4 separate regions of the Homo sapiens genome follow, and regions 1, 3 and 4 are each linked to region 2. Evidence: promoter capture Hi-C in 16 types of primary human blood cells and fetal thymus (Javierre and others, 2016). All regions are on one chromosome and are shown on one strand. Each heading gives the region's core, a stretch centred on a gene start or on the middle of the fragment in contact. The rest is flanking DNA. Distances are from core to core; before and after follow the strand shown. Region 1 overlaps LOC105379048 (a long non-coding RNA gene). Region 2 holds the start of THBS4-AS1 (THBS4 antisense RNA 1). Region 3 overlaps SERINC5 (serine incorporator 5). Region 4 has its middle 4.8 kb from the start of SPZ1.

Evidence for each region. Contacts are between HindIII fragments. The CHiCAGO score rates a contact against its expected background, and 5 or more counts as called.
Region 1: a fragment that was not itself captured here is called in contact with the fragment with the promoter of THBS4-AS1 in region 2 in 1 of 17 cell types (naive CD4 T cells); the score reaches 5.0 in naive CD4 T cells.
Region 3: a contact is called between a fragment that was not itself captured here and the fragment with the promoter of THBS4-AS1 in region 2, in 1 of 17 cell types (neutrophils). The highest score is 5.4, in neutrophils.
Region 4: a contact is called between a fragment that was not itself captured here and the fragment with the promoter of THBS4-AS1 in region 2, in 9 of 17 cell types (neutrophils, non-activated CD4 T cells, naive CD4 T cells and 6 more). The highest score is 12.0, in neutrophils.

Annotation. Positions count from the first base shown.
Region 1 is chr5:79,919,716-79,923,193 of GRCh38, forward strand. All of the region lies in intron 2 of LOC105379048 (a long non-coding RNA gene), which reads left to right. Among named protein-coding and RNA genes, the nearest start is that of LINC01455, 15 kb to the right of the region's middle. The HindIII fragment of the contact is 7,775 bases long and covers 1-3,478 here.
Region 2 is chr5:80,082,096-80,085,668 of GRCh38, forward strand. THBS4-AS1 (THBS4 antisense RNA 1) reads right to left here and starts at 1,570. Exons shown (of 8, transcript NR_109930.1): 1 at 1,405-1,570; 2 at 265-442. It overlaps THBS4 (thrombospondin 4), which reads left to right. Exons shown (of 22, transcript NM_003248.6): 21 at 311-450; 22 at 985-1,192. The coding sequence ends at 1,046. RefSeq lists silencers at 879-968, 2,084-2,298. The HindIII fragment of the contact is 5,954 bases long and covers 1-1,586 here.
Region 3 is chr5:80,225,244-80,228,565 of GRCh38, forward strand. All of the region lies in intron 1 of SERINC5 (serine incorporator 5), which reads right to left. Among named protein-coding and RNA genes, the nearest start is that of SERINC5, 29 kb to the right of the region's middle. The HindIII fragment of the contact is 9,320 bases long and covers 1-3,322 here.
Region 4 is chr5:80,323,159-80,326,464 of GRCh38, forward strand. No RefSeq gene overlaps it. Among named protein-coding and RNA genes, the nearest start is that of SPZ1, 4.8 kb to the left of the region's middle. The HindIII fragment of the contact is 7,032 bases long and covers 1-3,306 here.

The DNA of each region.
Region 1 (3,478 bases), core at 880-3,379, 160 kb before region 2:
GGGCCTTTTGGAGGATGGAGAGTGGGAGGAGGGAGAGGATCAAGAAAATCAACTAATGGCTACTAGGTTTAATACCTGGGTGATGAAATAATCTGTGCAACAAATCCCCATGATGCAAGTTCACCTATGTGACAAACCTGCACTTGTACCCCTAAACTTATAAAAAAATGGGCAAATGACTTGAATAGAAATTTCTCCAAGAATACACACTAATGGCCAATACATACATGAAAAGAAGCTCAACATCATTAGTTATTAGGGAATTTTAAACCAAAACCCAATGGGATACCACTTCTCATCTACTAGGATGGCTATAATAAAACAGACAGATTCTAATAAGTGTTGGCAAGAATGTGGAGAAATTGGAACCCTGAAAACATTGCTGGTGGGAATGTAAAATGATGCAGCTTCTTTGGAAGACAGATAGGCAATTCCTTAAAAAGTTAAACGTAGAGGTAGCACATGGTCCAGCAATTCTACTGCTCAGTATTAACTCAAGAGAAATGGAAAAGCATATGTCCATACAAAAAACTTGTTCATAGCAGCATTATTCATAATAGCCAAAAACTGAATATAATTTAAATATGCATCAACTGCTTAATGGTGTATAAACAAAATATGGTATATCCATTCAGTGCAATAGTATTAATTTTTTTAAAAATAACATACTGATACTGGCTATTACATGGATGGAACCTTGAAAACTTCATGGCACATGAAAGAAGTCAGACACAAAAGCAATATGTTATATGATTCTATTGACATGAAAAACCCAGAAGAGGCAAATCTATAGAGACAGAAAGTAGATTAATGGTTTCCAGGGATTAGGCTGAGGAATGGGGAGTGACTGCTGAAGGGTACAGGTTTCTTTCTGCAGAGAAATAAATGTTCTGGAATTAGGTACTGGTAATAGTTGCACAACTTTGTAAATATACTAAAAAAAGCCACTGAATTGTACACTTAAAAAATAAAAATGTTGGGAAATTTTTAAAAAACCATTTTTTTTTAATTGCACAGATACTTTATATCTTTTTAAAAACCCAGAAAATATACCATACAAAGAAGTTAATGATCAATTATGCTACCACTCCGAGATATGGGCTGTTAATATTTTGTCTTATATCCTTCCATATTTTTTAAATTTCTTTTTCTCTTATGAAAAATAATAAGTACACAGAGAAATATCAAATATTTCTAAGCCACTGTTCAATTGTCATCTCGAACTTCCCTCTGTTGTTATCCTTGCCATTCCCTTTGCCATTTTCATGGCTGTATTCTCTGTGTTCTTGATTTCACATCTTCTCTCTTGCTTTAATCTCTTGTTTGGAGGGTAGGAGGGAATGGGTGACAGTCTGAGCAACAGGCCTGTCTCAGGTCACACTAATGTATTTTGGGCTGGTGGCCCTCAGCCTCTAGTGCCCAGTGGATGTCCTGGGATCTTGCTTTACCATCATCCTGGAGAGCCCCTTGTTTCTCTCCTGTGTTGGATTTCCAGTTTCCTTTATACCAAGTCTTCCTCTGTCTGAGTTTAATCCTTTATTTTGGTGTAACAATCCTCCTCTAGAGTCCTGAAAAAAAGATGCATGGAAGGTAAATTTTTTGAGGCCTTGCATGTTTCAAAATGTGTCTATTCTGTGCTTATACTGAATGCTAGTAAGGAAAGATTGGAAATGCTGGCTCAGGGTGGTAAAGGTGCTGCTTATTACTGTCTGGCTTCTAGTGCTGGCATATGATGCACTGTCCAATCTGGAAAATCATGTGCTTCAGGCTGGGAACTTTCCCTGAATCATTTCATTGGCAATTTTCTCCCCTCCCCTCTGTTTTCTCAGTTTCTTTTTTTTTTCTTTTTGGAATTTCTATTCTTTTGCTTTTGGATCTCCTAGACTAATCCTTTAAATTTTCTCCTTTTTTGTGTGTGTATTTCTGCTGGGGTTCTACTTTATCTTCCATCCCTTCTAATGACTTTTCTTCTTCATTTTGCTATCACCTTTTTAATTTCCAGGAGCTCTTTGGTTCTCTGAATGTTCCTTTGCCAGGAGTGAGGGTGGGGTTGGACACATATAATGTCCTGTTCTAATTTTACGAATGCAGTATCTTCTCTTAGCTCTCTGATGACATTCCTGGAAATTGTTTGTTTTTTAAGTATTCAAATTACTTATCAGATACAATGTCCACTATTTGGGTAATGGGTACACTAGAAGCCCAGTCCCCACCAGTATGCAATATACTTGTGTTACAAACAAGCACATGCACCCCCTGAATCTAAAATAAAATAAAAAGTATTCTCCCCATTTTTTGAGTTGCTTTTTCTCTTTTTGTTTGTTTGCATCTATATCTTCCAAATTAAGGACTTTCCTTAGAAGTCTAGTATTCTTCAATTGACTGCTTATGATTTAGAGTTGAGGACTGACATGGTTTGGATGTGTGTCCCCTCCAAATCTCATGTTGTAATGCAATCCTCATTGTTGGAATCACTGGTGGGAAGTGATTGGATCACAGGGGTGGATTCCTCATGGATGGCTTAGTGCCATCTCACTGGTGATGAGTGGGTTCTTGCTCTGAGTTCACACAAGATCTGGTTGTTTAAATGAGTCTGGGACCTCTCCCTTCTCTCTCGTCCTGCTGCTCTCACAAGGTGACATGCTGGCTCCCCTTCATCTTCCACCATGATTACAAGTTTCCCAAAGCCCTCACTAGAATCAGATGCCAGCTCTATGCTTCATGTACATCCTTCAGAACCATGAGTCAATAAACCTCTTTTCTTTATAAATTGCTCAGTCTTAGGTATTTCTTTATAGCAACGCAAAAACAGACTAACACAAAAACTGAAAGTCTGCTTGGGAGCTCTGAGTATGTAGTTTGAACTTGAGAAACCTACACTTTACTGTAGGGTGATGTGAGTAACCCATTTGTTGGGGAAGACCTACCTTAGGTCTTTCCTTTGGACTGGCAAAATGAGCCAGAGAGTTTTCTATCTCCTTCCAAGATGGTAAAGGTCTGAGTGTCATCATTCTGGCACTGAGTGAGGGAAGGGCTGGGAGTTTCTACATTCAGCACTGAGAAAATATACAGTCACTTAATTCCCTATTTCAGGTACTCACTGTGCCTGTCAATCCATTAACACCCCCAGTTCCAGAAGAGTCTGGTACTGCTTGTTCCTGTGACTTTCGGTTGAATTCTGAGCGTATACCAGCTCTGGTTTAAGATTATTCTTTCCTAGGTTTAAGAAGGAAGAGTTATTATGACAGAAAAGCTGAGAGCAAGAATCAAATATTAGCTTTGACATTTCAAAAATATAAACCCTAAAGGACCCAGGACATAAAGTTTATGACACTATGCAGGAAAAAGTATCTAAAACTTAGAAATAAGGCAAATCTAATGGCTGCATGCCATTTCTAAATAGTCTGTGAAGGGTCATCTGATTCACTCAGGGAAAGTGCTTTTGACCATGGTCTACACATGTCTTCATCCTGAAAAG
Region 2 (3,573 bases), core at 320-2,819:
ATTTTTAACTCAAGTTTGATAGTGTGACCAACATCATGTTAGGCCTTGTGAGAGACAGAAGTTGGGAAGAAACACCCCCCACCCCCCTCCACACACACACGGACACACACGGTCCCTGCCCTCAAGGACTTCCAGTCTAGTAAGTAAGTGGCAACAGCTACAGTACAATCCAGGTCAGCGAAAAATGGAGCCTAAAACAGAGCAAAGAAAGACGCAGGTACGTATAAGAAGTGGGGCCCCTGGGCCTCACAGTGGGCACTTTACCCCGGGTTGGATTTCATGGAGGCCCCTCCGGCCGTGTTGTCCGCAGGGTACGATTTTATGAAGGCTCTGAGTTGGTGGCTGACTCTGGCGTCACCATAGACACCACAATGCGTGGAGGCCGACTTGGCGTTTTCTGCTTCTCTCAAGAAAACATCATCTGGTCCAACCTCAAGTATCGCTGCAATGGTAATGTGCATTCTCGTTACTGTTCAACATTGTTACTAGAATTAGTCAAACACTGCCACCTTATTTTTATACCGCACTTCCCCCCCAAAAGCCCAACGCTCATACCACATAGTCATTAAAACCTGATAGTCCCTGTGTACCAGAAGTAAAAAGCAGATCACATTTATCCTATTTTATCCATGTGGAAATTAAGACCCATAGAATTTAACTGCATGGTTTAGGGTTTGGGGTTCAGTGAGAAATCCAGTCAGATTTAATTTACAGGAAGCCTTTATTTTCATGTGGTTAAAACATAATCACAGATGCAAAATCCATTCTGCCTGCTGATTTTCTGCACGGCCGGGAAGGAGCACTCCTGGGCTTTAAGCCAACGGTTTGCAAAGCAGCCTGCAGGAGAAAATGGCGGCGAGGGCCTGCGGGGCGTCCTGGGCGGGCTAACAGCGCCCCCTACAGGACGCCTGAGCCGCGGGCGGGGGTCCGGGGTCCGGGGTGGAAGGAGCCTCGCTAACCTCCCTGTGCCCATTCCTATTGCAGACACCATCCCTGAGGACTTCCAAGAGTTTCAAACCCAGAATTTCGACCGCTTCGATAATTAAACCAAGGAAGCAATCTGTAACTGCTTTTCGGAACACTAAAACCATATATATTTTAACTTCAATTTTCTTTAGCTTTTACCAACCCAAATATATCAAAACGTTTTATGTGAATGTGGCAATAAAGGAGAAGAGATCATTTTTAAAAACCGTGTTGCTCAGACATTGCTCTCACGTGGCTCAGGCTTTGAGGTGCCCGTTCTCGGAGGGATCCCTGTTAACTTGCAGGGTGGTAGTTTCTTCTCAGACCCGGTGGCCGATAAGATGAGCCTATGCGTGAATCACAAGGCCCAGGCCAGAGGTCTCAGCTGGGGTCCCCCCAGTTTGCTCCATACAAAACGCCTAACCGTTCCATGCTCACCTTGGCAGCCTCCTTATTTCGGGTAAGGGGTCTCAGAAACACGTGTTTGGGGTGGCACCTTCCCTAGGGAGGCGTTTTTCTGACCTAGTCCTGGGACAGATTTGCCCAATTCTTTCTGATGCTGTCATCCCATCCCACACCTTCCACAGACTTCTATTCTGGCCCCTTCAACGTAATTCTTAAGCTTATTTATATATTTGGCTCCCCCTAGTGGACTGTAAGCATATTGACAATAAAGGATCATGTCATTACAATCAATATCCCCACAGTACCTGGAATGTAGTAAATAGCCAGTAAATGTTTACTGAATTAATAAACGAAGAATGAATGAATGAATGCCTCTTAAAGGACAGTAGAGTGTACATGATCATAAAAGTCCTCCTCAACTCAAAAAGTCACAACATATCCTCTATTTGTGGTACCAGTAGCTGGATGTACAGCACAGAAACTTGCCTAATTTGTACACTAGCCTTTCTTGTATTTCAATTGTAAATCAAGATCCAAGCAAATTTTTATAAATTCTCTAGAAATTTTGTTTCAAAGAATATTGCTGTGCGGTTATATATTTTCTTATTCCAGAATTCCTAGAGATATATTAAATCATGTATGAAGAAAAAAACACCACAGTTTTATCATGACTTTAACAGTGAGAAAATACAATGGTGCATGCATGAGATCTGGAGGATTTCTGGACATCCTCCTCTCATGTACAGCCTGGAGATGTGTGTGGCCTTGTAATCCAGGACATCTGATCTCCTACATCAAAAACTCCAATGGGGCCAGGTGTGGTGGCACTTGCCTGTGGTCCCAAGCACTTTGGGAGGCCAAGGCAGGCAGATCACTTGAGGCCAGGAGTTCAAGACCAGCCTGGCCAACGTGGCGAAACCCATCTCTACTAAAAATACAAAAATTAGCCAGGTGTGGTGCCACTTGCCTATAGTCCCAGCTATTTGGGAGGTTGAAGTGGGAGAATCACTTGAGCTGGGGAGGCAGAGGCTGCAGTGAGCAGAGATTGCACCACTGTACTCCAGCCTGGGCAATGAGAGTGAGGCTGGTGAAAGGAGGCAGCAACCCACACCATGCCCACCCCTGGGGCAGCCTCCCTGTTGTCGGCTGTGCAAGCCCAAGAACGCAGTATGTCCACAGGAAACAGACTCTCTTGGTTAAATCTTTTGTGTCTATAACTATTTTAGAAACCATGGGCCCACAGGAGATCCAGAACATAATTCCATCCCTTAGGGAGCTTATTACATTTTTGGGAAGACAAAACTTGTTATTTATGCAAAACAAGAAACAAAGACGCATGTAGAACCAGCAGTGTGCTGAAGCCAACTCCTACCAGCTCATAAGAGCCAACTATTCAAGTTTTAGGAATATTGTGAGCCAGTTAAACGGTTGGTAGTTTGAAATTGGCCATGGTGGGAGTATTTACACAGAAACTGGCAAACACTACAAATCAGGGCTCCAGAGAACTGGTTGTTAAATATTTATCAGCACACAAGTGATTATTCTACCTTGTCCTATTCCTAGTTGGCCCTCCTTATATTTTTGAAGCTGATGTAGAAAACTTGAGGCTTTCAGAAAATTTCTTGCATAAGAAATGAAGTAAGAAAAGTGAAAATGGGTGGGGTGCTATGGCTCACACCTGTAATCCTAGCACTTTGGGAGGCCTAGGTGGGAGGATCGCTTGAGGTCAGGAGTTTGGGACCAGTCTGGCCAACATGGTAAAACCCCATCTCTACTAAAAATACAAAAATTAGGCCAGGTGCAGTGGCTCCTGCCTATACTCCCAGCTCCTCAGGTGGCTGAAGCACAAGAATCTCTTGAACCCGGGAGGCGGAGGTTGCAGTGAGCTGAGATCGTGCCACTGCACTCCAGCCTGGGCGACAGAGCAAGACGTGTCTCCAAAAACAAAAACAAAAAAAAAAAAAAGTGAAAATCAGGAAGCACTTGAGAGAAGCTAGCCAGTTGCAGACTGACGGGATGAGCTAGCAGGTGTGGTATGCTCTCCCCCAGGTAACTCCCTGGGCTTCTTGGATACTTGTTATACTCAACCTTAGCACAATGACTCAAATTCCTATTACAGTTCCATTAGGTTAGTAAGAGCCTCATTTGAATCTTACACCTCTAGGACTGAGTGGCCATCAGTCTCTCACCAACTAGTATGAA
Region 3 (3,322 bases), core at 512-3,011, 140 kb after region 2:
AGAATTTAATGTTTATCACAGCCCTATGCTGTTATCATCCACCTCTATTATAATGAGAAAGTGGATCAAATAACACAGACAAACCTATTAAATAGAACTGGAATTTCTGCCTCAGTCAGGTGACTCCTAAGTCCATTTGTTTGCAATACTTTATAATGTTTAATGATTGGTGTAACACCTTGATCACACCTTCACAACCTTCCTCTCATTCTATCTTTATAACCATTCCACAAGGCAGGCAGGGAGAGTAGCATCATTCCCAACATAGAGACAAATGTGAAGCCTGAATAAGTTACCTTATTTTTGGAACTCATTCTCCTTCTTCCTGATAGCACCCTGCTGGATGAGTGCAATGAGCAGCAAAGCCTTGATGGTGCTGACAGAGGAGACCAGCAACACCCGAAAAGACAAAGACAGCAGCTTTGCTACTTCCATACTGCCTTAAAAGAGTAGGGTTATCCCATGCACCTGTGTAATATGCACTCACACATGCACACGAGTGTGTACGCAAGGGCAGAGAACAAAGCCCTAAAGACGGAACAAAGCCCCACAGCCCTAGTTCTATTTCTAAATGTCAAACTTTGCAGCACGTTCAACAATTTAAGGAGGCAGAGAATTATATCCTGTGCTTCCATCGAAACACCAAAATTAAAGATGTGAGTGTCTTTGGTAACCAAGGAGATCCTTCTACCCAGCACTCATTATAAGTAATAGTTACCTATCATTTCTTAAGTACTTCCTATGTATCAAGGTACTACTCTAAGGTGCTTTCAAGACCTTTCATTTAATCTCCCCAAAGGAAAAAAAAAAACCACCCCCCTGCCTTTTGTTTGAGACAGTGTCTCACTCTGTCCCCCCAGGTTGGAGTGCGGTAGCACGATCTCAGCTCACTGCAACCTCCAACTCCCACTTCAAGCGATTCTCGTGCCTCAGACTCCCAAGTAGCTGGAGTACAGGTGCACACTATGATGCCTGGCTAATTTTTTGTATTTTTTAGTAGAGACGGGGTTTTGCCATGTTACAGGCATGAGCCACTGCATCCGGCCAAAAATAACCCTTTGATAGAAGTATCACAATCTCCATTTGACAGATGAGGAAATCTGAGTCTCAGAGGTTAACCGACTTTCCAGAAGCCACTTTGGGATAAACCAAAATCCTGATCTCTGATTCCAGAGCCCAACAGGATTCCAAAACCAGTTTTCCTTCACCAGATCTCAGGATATCTGGAATATACTGTTTTGACCCCTCCTCCACCTACTCCCCTATAGAAACATAAAATCAAGAGAGACCCTAAAACAGGTGCATGCACCTACAGCAGTCAGAAGAGCCCACTGGATGCTGCCCCTTGTGAGGGCTAGTCCTGACCTTGAGATGTGCCATTCCCAATGCTTTCTGCGAGAACACAGCACAGCCTTGGGCATCCCACCACCGTTCCGAAAGCCATTCTTCATTCTTCTTGTAATTTGTGGCAGTGATACTAATAATAATTTTTTTAAATAATAGGAAATTGCATTGTGCATTTTCTAGGTGCCAGGTAGGGTCCTCAGTTCTTAGCATGGATTTACTTCATCCTCACAATAATCCCATGAAGTAAATACTCATATTGCCATTTTTCACAAGTAAGAGGATTATAATTTAAATTTTTGGCATAATATGCCCTACTTTTTTTGAGATGGAGTCTGGCTCTGTTGCCCAGAGCTGGAGTGCAGTGGCATGATCTCAGTTCACTGCAACCTCCACCTCCCGGGTTCAAACAATTCTCCTGTCTCAGCATCCTGAGTAGCTGGGATTATAGGTGCCCCCCACCACGCCCGGCTAATTTTTGTATTTTTTGTAGGGACAAGGTTTCACCATGTTGGCCAGGCTGGTCTTGAACTCCTGACCTAAGGTGATCCACCCACCTCAGCCTCCCAAAGTGCTGGGATTACAGGCATGAGCCACTGCGCCTGGCCTATGCCCTACTTTTATAATCAGAAAAAATTTTATAAGCTATACTGACTGAAAAATGAGGAAAAGACAAAATAAGTAGAGAAAACATAAAGGAAGAAAAGAGAGAAAAAGGAAAAACGAATTCCATTTTTTTCACAAATGAGAAAACTGAGGTCTCTCCTAAGGTCGAGATAGGAACTCAGTCAGCCAGGCCCTAAACTCTTTCCTGTGCTGCTATGGTGCCGTCTCTAGAGCAGAGCTGTCTCTAGAGAGTCACAGCACACCTCATAATAAAACTGTGTTTACAGCCGGGAGCAGCGGCTCACACCTCTAATCCTAGCTCTTTGGGAGACCCAGGCGGGTGGATCACTTGAAGCCAGGAGTTTGAGACCAGCCTGGACAACATGGTGAAACCCCGTCTCTACTAAAAATACAAAAAAAAAAAAAGAATCGCATGTGTAGATGTTTATTTTTAAATTGACTACCTGATTTTTGCAGTCAATCATTTGAAAGTTAAAAATTCAAAAACTAGCCAGGGTGGGGGCGAACACCTGCGGTCCCAGCTACTCAGGAGGCTGAGGCATGAGAATCGCTTGAACCCGGAAAGCAGAGGTTGCAGTGAGCCAAGATAGTGCCACTGCACTCCAACCTGGACGACAGAGTGAGACCCTGACTTACAAAAAAGAAAAAACCTGTGTTTACACAAGGTAAGAAGGTTTAAAAGTTTCTAGCAATTATTCTGGACTTTGGTTAAAAGTACAGACACTTGGCCTGCATGGTGGCTCACATCTGTAATCCCAGCACTTTGAGAGGCCAAGGTGGGTGGATCACTTGAGCCCAAGAATTCGAGACCAGCCTGGGCAACATGGCAAAACCCCATCTCTACAAATAATATGAAAAAAAAAAAAAATTAGCCAGGCATGGTAGCATGCACCTGTAGTCTCAGCTGCCCAGGAGACTGAGATGGGAGGATCACCAGAGCCTGTGAGGTCAAGAAGGCTACAGTGAGCTATGATTTCGGCACTACACTCCAGCCTGGGCAGCAGAGTGAGTGAGGGAGGGAGGGAGGGAGGGAAAGGAGGGAGGGAAGGAAAGGAGGGAGGGAGGGAGGGAGGGAAAGGAGGGAGGGAGGGAGGGGGAGAGGAGGAAGGAAGGAAGGAAAGAAAAAATGTATAGACACTCAGCATAAAACAGAGTGAAAACTGAGTTTGGCACTTGTAGTATGTATAAAATTTGAATCACAATCCAAATCTTTCATCATTGCCTTTCTCTTTCAACTATTAAGAATTTTTTTTTTGTTTAAGAAAGGGTCTCATTCTGTTGCCCACACTGGAGCGCAGTGGTCCAACCATAGCTCTTTGGAGCCTTGAACTCCTTGCCTCAAATGATCCTC
Region 4 (3,306 bases), core at 535-3,034, 240 kb after region 2:
TATAGAAACATATTTCTACCCCCATCCCTGTTGGCAGATACTGAGTAGAGAGCCTAGACATTCATCCTTGCCTGGCAGTCATGAGGCACACCTCCCCTACTCTACTGGGATGGTGCAGAGGAGGTAAGAGTAGGGATCCTAAAGTTCTATCCTCCACCTGATGGTAACAGTGCTCTTCCCTGGCCTCCCCCAACCCCTCCAGTAGAGTGGAGTCCACGTAAGTAGCCTAGATTTCTACTCCTTTTCCCTGCTGGCATCATCAGCAGGGCCCTACTAAAAAAGAAGACTTAAGATCCAGGGTCTCCTAACAATCCCTAAAATGTCCAGAATACAATAGAAAAATCACTCATTATATTGAGAGCCAGAAAAATCTCAACTTGAATGAGAAAAGACAATTAACAGATACCAACAATGGGACAACACAGACAATAGAGTTATCTGACAAGGATTTTAAAGCAGTCATTATAAAAATGCTTCAGGCCAGGCGCGGTGGCTCACGCCTGTAATGCTAGCACTTTGGGAGCCCGAGGCGGGTGGATCACCTGAGGTCGGGAGTTTGAGACCAGCCTGACCAACATGGAGAACCCCCGTCTCTACTAAAAATACAAAATTAGCTGGGTGTCATGGCACATGCCTGTAATCCCAGTTACTCGGGAGACTGAGGCAGGAGAATTGCTTGAACCCAGGAGGCAGAGGTTGCAGTGAGCCAAGATCATGCCATTGCACTCCAGCCTGGCCAACAAGAGTGAAACTCCATCTCAAAAAAAAAAAAAAAAATGTGTCCATGAACAGTTACAAACATGAAACAAATGAAAAAATAGAAAGTATCAGCAAATAAATATAAAAGAGACATAAGTGGAAATTATGGAACTGAAAAATATAAATGATATAACCTCACCGAATGTGCTCAATAACAAAATATAGATGTCAAAGAAAAGATTCTATGAACTTGAAGATAGAACCACAGAGATGACCCAGAGAAAGTTGACAGAGAGACTGGGTGCAGTGGCTCACACCTGTAATCCCAGCACTTTGGGAGGCCGAGGCAGGTGGATCACTTGAGGTCAGGAGTTTGAGACCAGCCTGGGCAATATAGTGAGACCCCCATCTCTACAAAAATTAGCCAGGCATAGTGGGGCACACCTGTAGTCTCAGCTACTCAGGAGACTAAGGTGGGAGGATTGCTTGAACCCAGGAGTTTGAGACCAGCCTGGGCAACATAGGGAGACCCCATCTCTACAAAAACTACAAAAATTAGCCAGGCATGACAGCACACGCTTGTAGTGTCAGCTACTTGGGAGGCTGAGATAGAAAGATTGCTTGAGCCTGGGAGGTTGAGGCTGCAATGAGCCATGATCATGCCACTGCACTCCAGCCTAGGGGACCGAGTGAGCCCTGTCTCAATCAATCAGTCAATCAATCAAAAAGTTGGAGTGAGAACCCAGGATCCTCTCCATCTTGCCTTCCAGGGGTAAAGGGTTTTTTTTTTTTCCTCTTTTGTTTTTTTGAGATGGAGTTTCGCTCTTGTTGCCCAGGCTGGAGTGCAATGGCACAATCTTGGCTCATCGCAACCTCTTCCTCCCAGGTTCAAGTGATTCTCCTGCCTCAGCCTCCCAAGTAGCTGGGATTACAGGTGCCCACCACCATGCCCAACTAATTTTGTATTTTTAGTAGAGACGGGGTTTCTCCATGTTGGTCAGGCTGGTCTTGAACTCCTGACCTCAGGTGATCCGCCCGCCTTGGCCTCCCAAAATGCTAGGATTACAGGTGTGAGCCACCGTGCCCCTCCTTTTTTCTCTCTTCTTTTAGAAGGGGAGGAGGACAGCTGTCTTTCTCTTTTATATAAATGCTCAGTTTCATTTTCTCAGAATTCCTCACTTACAGTACAGACCTCATTACATAGAGGATGACATCTGGTTCTTATTGCATCCCCCCAGGGATAAGAACTAGGACAAGGGAATCCAGCACAGTAATTATCATAATAATCTGTCTCTGGTGCAAAAACTTCATGTATGCATTCAGGGCAACATAAAGATGAATATTAACAACCCAGCAAAGACAATCACAATCTCCACCACAGGTTCTATTATACATGTAGCAGGGGGCACAAGAGATTTTCATATGTTGGAAGTACCAAAATGACAACCTGAAATACTGCTCCCTACTCCTAAACCAACATTGCTTTCTATGTTTGGAATATGTATCACTTTATTCAAAAGCTAAAAGCCAACACTTTCTTGTTACAGCCCTTAGTGAAATAAAAAGAGATTGCCACACTTAAATAATATTGGGGGTCCTTAAAAAAATTACACACTTCTTTCCACCTGTCTTTCCTTCAAATGGAGATACCCTCCACACTATTCTCCAAGCACCTTGATTAATAAAGAATTGTGTAGTTCACTTGGCCAGGCACGGTGGCTCATGCCTGTAATCTCAGCACTTTGGGAGGCCAAGGCAGGTGGATCACCCGAGGGCAGGAGTTCAAGACCAGCCTGGCCAACATGGCAAAACCCCGTCTGTACTGAAAATACAAAAATTAGCTGGGTGTGGTGGTATGCACCTATAGATCCAGCTACTTGGGAGGCTGAGGCAGGAGAATCGCTTGAACCTGGGAGGCAGAAGTTGCAGTGAGCCGAGATCGCGCCACTGCCCTCCAGCCTGGAAGACAGAGTGAGACTCCATTTCAAAAAAAAAAAAATAGAAAGAAATCTTTCCTTATATCATGAATAAAAGCCTTCCAAAGTCCTTTTAATTTCTTGTCTTTCGCATTTATTTCTTTAATTTATCTTGAATTGATCCAGAAAAAATTCATCATAGTATTTAGGTTGATTGTCTATAAGTTGTACAATGGGTGTTTTCAAGTCCTTTTTGCTTGTCTATGCTTTGAGCCCTTTCTAACCTTTCCAATAAGAAAGTATGAGGCACTTTATATATATATAAAGTAAGGGTGAAATAATGGAAGAAGCATTTCACAAACAGGGAGATAATCTAAGTCTCAACTTGTTTCAGTCTGAGTTGCTTCATTTAAAAGGTGGTGACAATAATTTTCTTTTGGACCATGGACAAATGGTTCAAAGATTCTCTGGCTCCCTCAGCTGAGGTCTTATTGCTCTCTGGGAAGTAGGAATAGATTAAATGGGAGAATTAGAAACTAATCAGAAGCAAGCCTGGCTAAAAAGGAAGGGAACAATAGCAAAAACCCCAGGCACACAGGATATCTGGAAGTTGGGGTCATTGGTATGTTGCAAGTAAAAAGAAAGATAAGTATTACATTAAAAAGACAGCTATCCTAGATTAGTGTGAGGC